2 separate regions of the Homo sapiens genome follow, and region 1 is linked to region 2. Evidence: promoter capture Hi-C in 16 types of primary human blood cells and fetal thymus (Javierre and others, 2016). All regions are on one chromosome and are shown on one strand. Each heading gives the region's core, a stretch centred on a gene start or on the middle of the fragment in contact. The rest is flanking DNA. Distances are from core to core; before and after follow the strand shown. Region 1 holds the start of KLK5 (kallikrein related peptidase 5). Region 2 holds the start of ASPDH (aspartate dehydrogenase domain containing).

What was found. The method cuts DNA at HindIII sites, captures the fragments that hold promoters and counts their contacts. A CHiCAGO score of 5 or more calls a contact.
Region 1: the fragment with the promoter of KLK5 here is called in contact with the fragment with the promoter of ASPDH in region 2 in 2 of 17 cell types (M0 macrophages and M2 macrophages); the score reaches 5.7 in M0 macrophages.

Annotation. Positions count from the first base shown.
Region 1 is chr19:50,951,080-50,954,364 of GRCh38, forward strand. It overlaps KLK5 (kallikrein related peptidase 5), which reads right to left and starts at 1,959. Exons shown (of 6, transcript NM_012427.5): 1 at 1,668-1,959; 2 at 1,506-1,589. The coding sequence starts at 1,578. The region is part of intron 1 of LOC105372442 (a long non-coding RNA gene); the gene reads left to right. The HindIII fragment of the contact is 21,591 bases long and covers 1-3,285 here.
Region 2 is chr19:50,512,244-50,515,167 of GRCh38, forward strand. It overlaps ASPDH (aspartate dehydrogenase domain containing), which reads right to left and starts at 1,670. Exons shown (of 7, transcript NM_001114598.2): 1 at 1,529-1,670; 2 at 1,029-1,173; 3 at 684-768; 4 at 418-567; 5 at 117-337; 6 at 1-47. The coding sequence starts at 1,580. All of the region lies in intron 1 of LOC124904747 (a long non-coding RNA gene), which reads left to right. RefSeq lists an enhancer at 1-142. The HindIII fragment of the contact is 8,504 bases long and covers 1-2,924 here.

The DNA.
Region 1 (3,285 bases), core at 709-3,208, 440 kb after region 2:
CAGGAAAGAAGGGCTCAGCTTAGGGGGCCACATGGAGGGGAAGAGCAGGCCTAGGTTTCTGAATTCTCAGATGAAAACATGCCTTCTCAATCCTGTCAATCTCCTCCTCTCACACACAGACCTACAGACTACATGCATGCCCCACTCCATCATCAGTCCTCCCGTGCCCATTCACTGGTTCTTACCCTTTTTTTTTTCTTTTTTTCTTTCGAGACGGAGTTTCGCTCTTGTTGCCCAGGCTGGAGTGCAATGGCGCGATCTCGGCTCACCGCAACCTCCACCTCCCGGGTTCAAGCGATTTTTCTGCCCCAGTCTCCCGAGTAGCTGGGATTACAGGCACGCGCCACCACACCAGCTAATTTTTTGTATTTTTAGTAGAGACGGGGTTCTCCATGTTGGTCAGGCTGGCCTCGATCTCCCGACCTCAGGTGATCCGCCTGCCTCGGCCTCCCAAAGGGCTGGGATTACAGGCGTGAGCCACCGCGCCCGGCCTGGTTCTTACCCTTGCTGATGGCCCTGGCACCACCATCATTCACGAACTCACCCCAAGAACCACGCGCACAACAGCAGTAACAGCCAAGCACGCACGCAGTTCTGCAGACACGCCCATGTTGCCTCCACAGGTGCAGCTAACATACAGCTCTGTCTCCAGGTACACACGCTCCCGGGCAGCCTAGCGGGATCGCACACCCTCATCCACAGTGTCTCAGTGCCACGCACAGATGCCGTGTGTGCACAGATGTTCAGACTGCCACATACTCTTCTGCACACAGGCACACACTGCAAGTCAGTCACCTGGCACCCATCTCCCAGAGATAGCTACCCCTGCACCCTCTATCCCTCCAGGCAGAGACAGAAACTCCAGACACACAGCTGCACCATCACACATACAGTAGCATTTACACGGCCTCACACAGACACACACAGTCACATACAGTCACCCCTACACAGAGCTTCAGGTAGTCACACGGTCACAAATACGGGCATCCATAACGTCACACTCAGCCACAATCACATAATCGCCTGCAAGCAGCACACAGTCACAGCTTTCCATGGTGATGACCACTTTTGTTGCACGCAATCCCGGGACCTCAGGGACAGGAACTGCAGATACCTGCAGTCATATACAATGCCAAGTCACCACACACAGCCAAACACACAGTGAACACCCCCAGTGCTACATGCATTCACCCACACAGCTGTGGAGCCACACACAATCTTAAATGCACACACAATCACAAAACCACACACACAGCCTCAAAGGGTCAGTGCCACCTGCCGCACAGTCACCTGATATGGGAAAAGGCATCCCCCTCCCCGACACACACCGTGGCAGTCACAGGGCCACATACGATCGCACAACCACAAGTACAGACAGAGACTCACATTCACCCGGTCCCGGAGTCATGCCCAGGCTCACACAGTTCCCCAGGGGACAGGCGCTCTAGTGCCGCAGAGACAGTCCTCCCAATCCCACAACCCTCCCACCCCAGAGTTCTGGTTACCTGTGACCCCCAGAAGCAAGGCTGTGATCAGAGCACAGAGCACCCACATCCAGGGGGGTCTTGCTGTAGCCATGGCCGCTGCACCTGGATGGGGAATGTCAGAGGGTTGGGAGGCCCAGGCGATCCGGGGAGCCCTTAACCCACTTCCCCTCCCTCCCCTACCTTATTTCCCCAGGTAGAGAGGAACCACAAGGACGGGCCACCATCGGCACTGCGCTGAGACCCAGGCACTATAGAATTCAGAAGATAGGAGTCTAGCAGCCTCCAGACAGGGCAAGGAGGGGACAGAGAAAGATGTGGGTGCAGGACGCACAGACACCTCTCCTTCCCTGCCTGCTGAGCCACCCTCACCAGGTCTCACTTGCCCTGTCCCCCAGGTAGGGGGTGGGGGATTTGCTCCCAGCTCAGCCGCAGACTTCTCAGGCCTGTGCCTTCCTGGCCACTGCCTCCTCCTGGGCTCTGGGCACCGGGCCTGAGTTATAACCACCCACTGCTCCCTGGGGCACATTCCCGGGCAATGAGGTGCCTATCGGGCCTTAGCAATAGCTCCTCCTGCTCCCCCTATCTCCACCCCCAGAGCACCCCCCACCCAGTCCGGAATGTCACTCCCTACCTCCCTGGCCCGGAGAATGGGGAGGGGTCTCCGGAAGCCAGGCCAGCCCCTTCCCTGCCTCCCCCAGCCTTAAGGATCTGGCTTCTCACCAACTCTGGGTCACTATTCTTGGCGCCTGGATTGCTTGCTTTCTTCTCTGCATTTTGCTCATTCCACCACTGTCTGTTCACCCTCGATACTCCTCTTTCCATCTTTGTCTCTGGTTTTTTCTCAGAGTCTTCTTCCATCTCTCTGTGGTTCTCCCTCGGCTATCTTTCTGAGTCTCTCTCAATATCTCGTGTCTCTCTCCACCCCTCTCTCTCTTTCTATCCCTCTCGCCTCTCTGTCTCTCTGTCTCTGTCTCTCTCTCTCTGTCTTTTTCTCTGTCTGTCTCTCACTCACTCTCTCTCTCTCTCCTCCTGTCTGTCTTAGGAGCCTTGTTTTGTTCTCCTTGGGCCACAGGTGTTTCTGTCTCCCTGTTCCTCCCTGTCTTTCTATGCCTCTGTGATTCTTTCTTTTTTAAAGGTTCTGAATGATTTGTCAAATATACCTTAGAGTTCTTGGCCCATTTATTTTCCTTTATTTCACTTCTGCTCTATTTGTTGACAGCATTTTTTTTTTAGATATAACTAAGGTACAACAAACTGCTTGTTCGTTTGTTTATTTATTTATTTGAGACAGAGTCTTGCTCTGTCGCCCAGGCTGGAGGGCGGTGATGTGATCTCGGCCCACTGCAACCTCCGCCTCCAGGGTTCAAGTGACTCTCGTGCCTCAGCCTCCAGCATAGCTGGGATTACAGGTGTGCCCCACGACACCCGGCTGATTTTTTTTTTTTTTTTTTTTTTTTTAGTAAAGACAGAGTTTCACCATGTTGGCCAGGCTGGTCTCAAACTCCTGGCCTCAAGTGATTCACCCACCTCTGCCTCCCAAAGTGCTGGAATTACAGGCATGAGCCACGGTGCCTGGCCCAAACTGCATATTTAAAGGGTAGAGTCTGATGGCTTTAGGTACTTGTCACATCAGCATAGTCAAGAAGATGATCATGGCCGGGCGCGGTGGCTCACGCCTGTAATCCCAGCACTTTGGGAGGCCGAGGCGGGCGGATCACGAGGTCAGGAGATCGAGGCCATCCCGGCTAAAACGGTGAAACCCCGTCTCTACTAAAAATACAAAAAAATTAGCCGGGCG
Region 2 (2,924 bases), core at 420-2,919:
CCCGGGGTCCGCTCAGCTCTACATCCACCACGTGCATGTCCGTGAGGCTGGGACAAGAGGGGCAGTCAGTCTGGAGAGCCTGGACTCAGCCCAACACCCTGCTTAGCTCTGCTCACCTGGTATCAGCCACGAGCACCCCAATCACCCCATCGAAGCCCAGGCTGGGGGCAGCCAGGGCAGCCGCCGCCATGGTGTTGGAATTTCGCGGGGCAAAGGGGCAGAGCCCACGGACAGGGCCTTCGTAGAGCACAGTGCAAGGCCCAGGGCTGTGGGCTGCAGCCAGGGGTCCCTCAAGCCGGAAGCCATCGGGGTGTGTGGCCATGGTGACACGAAGGCTCTGGAAGCAAGAGCCCGGGTTAGGGGGAGTGGGGTCTTTGCAGGCCTCCCCTGGTTCCTGGGGAGCCCAGCAGGCCTCACCCGGAGGCCCCCAGCTGCATCCAATCTCCTGATGTCCTCAGCGCCCCACAGGGCCCCTCGGGCCACAAACACGGCGTGGTCCCAGTGCTGTGAGGCCTCCAAGAGCTGCCGCTCTGTGGTCTGGTCACTTAGAGCTGAGGGGGACCCCACCTGGGGTGGATGAAGGAGGGGAGGGTTGAGGTCAGGGAAGGATATCCACTTCAGGGTGGGGTGAGACCAAGACAGAAGGGGCAGGGCTCTGCGTAAATGGTTGGGGTGGGGCTTACCAGGAGATTGGCATGGCGCAGGATTTGTGCCCCAGATTCATGGATTATTTTGGGATGGGCCACTTCCACAACCAGATCAGGGCGCCTGGGAGAGGGGAAAGAGGGCGGAGGGTCTTGGAGAGGTATTAGGCCTCTTCTCCCCAAGGTTCCCTCCGAGTCTACTGAGGGCTGCCCTTCTTCTCCCTGACCTGGGAGGCGAAATGAGATGAATGGGTTCGTCCTGTTTCACATTTGCTTGAACCAAGGCCCAGAGAGGGTCAGGGAACCCCTGAGATCACACAGTGGCTAAGAGAGCCAGGACAGGAGCTTCAGGGAGCTCCACTCTCCCATGGCAAGGTCACTGACCTTTCCCCAAGGGCAGCAAGGTTCTGGAGCTGCAGGGAAGGGGGCACGCTCCCTGCCATTCGTCCTGGGTCACGATTCCAGACAAAAACAAGTTCTAGGCCAAGTTCTGGTCCCTGAGCCAAGAGGCGGGAGACGAGGGACTGTCCTGGGGAGAGGGAAAGGAGAGGGCTAGAGATCCAGAGAGAGGGGGACAGAGACCCAGAGAGAGAGGAGGTGGGGACAGAGACCCAGAGAGAGAGGAGGTGGGGACAGACTCAGATTGCGGGGTAGGGAGACAGAGATGGGGGCAGGGCAGAGACACAGTGGGGTGGACAGAGGCCCAGAGAGAAGGGAGACAGAGACGGAGAGGACAGAGACCTGGGGTGGGGGTGCAGTGGGCAGACCCAGAGACACAGCCAGGGGCAGATAGAGAGAGAAAAAAGTGTTTGTGGAGGGCAGAGAGTCTTGGGAGCTTTAGGAAGGGGTTTGGGGAAGGAGGCCAAGGATGGTCAGGGACTCACCGAGGCGGCCATAGCCCACCACGCCCACCCTCCACGGGCCCCTGTCGGCCATGGCCCTGAGTGCGGTGTCTGGGGCCTGGCTCCCTGGGCTGCTCGCTGCCCGCTGCACAAGGCCTGGGCAGCCGCTGCTCTTTGGACATCTGACCCTTGAGCCTCTGGGCTCAGTCTTCCCCCTTCCCCGCAGGCCCAGCGTGGGGGCGTGGGCCTGCGGGAGTGGAGGCGGGAGAACCCTTCCCTGTGCTCTGTCCACTTTCCCGGGTCCAGCACAGTGAGCATGGTGACCGGGGGTTCTGGGAACCCTGCGTGCCCCCCTTTCCCCTGCAGCACACCCTCTTTCTCCCTGCTGATGTGGAAAGTTTCCTCTGCAGTCCCCTGCCCCCTCTCTGGCCGGCCAGGTTGTCATGGAAACTGCATCTTGCTTTGGGTTGGGAGAAGAGATGGTGACAGGGACTCTGGGCTCTGTCTGTCCCCTCGTGCTCACCTCTCCTCCTTGTCCTCAGGCGGCTAAGGTCTGAGGGAGGCTTCAGCCTGGCCGTGGCCCTAGCCCTCCCAGAGGCAGCGGGAGCCCTGGTTGTGGCTTCTCCTCAATGTGCCCTTGCCTCAGCGGGTCCAACCTCCCTAGCCCCGCTGCGCAGCACGGGTCCCCTTCCCACAGCCTCCGCCCCTGTCCACAGCCTCCCTCCGCTCTGATCATCCTTCAGTTCACCTTGACTTGCTACCTTTCACTCTGTCCCCCATCGTGCCACCAGCTGCCTCCAGTGTGACGTTCTCGCTCCCACGTCCGTCCCTCCCGTTCCCCAGCTCGCGTCAGCCCAGGAGAAGCCTTCGAGGCCTGGAGAGGCCAAGTGCCCCCAACATGAGCCCCAGCCTCTGTGCCTTGAGGGTGCCTGGCATCGGAAATGGCGCAGGCTGCGGCAGCGCAGGCTCCCTGCCCCCAGCCACCACCTGGTACCCGCTGCAGTGTTTCCATGGCAACCAGGATTGGCGCTGGAAGGAGGCTGGAGAGAAAGAGAGCGTGAACGGGAGCATGGGGTGGGGGGGGCGGGCACTGGGTGGCGAGAGCCCCAAGTTGACGGGAGGAGAGAGGAGACAGACGCGGGCAGACAGAGAGGGGCCAAGACCCCGACGTGGCACCCAAAGGCTGCCGCTGCTGATAAGGGAGGAATTGGCTTCCAGAGCCAGGAGCCCCCGGTGTGGGAGAGATGAGATGCCTGGGTGTAGACAGAGCCAGGAAGGGGGCAGGGGCCAGGCACCTCACGGAAGTGGGGGGCCTCCCGCCATCTCTACCTTCTGACTCCTGCTGGGGCCTGAGTGTCCCCATAGTGCCCATAGCTGCCGTGTACGGGGTACAGCCTGGGCCACTACGAGGGGAGAAGGGGGCTGGGCGCAGGCCTGT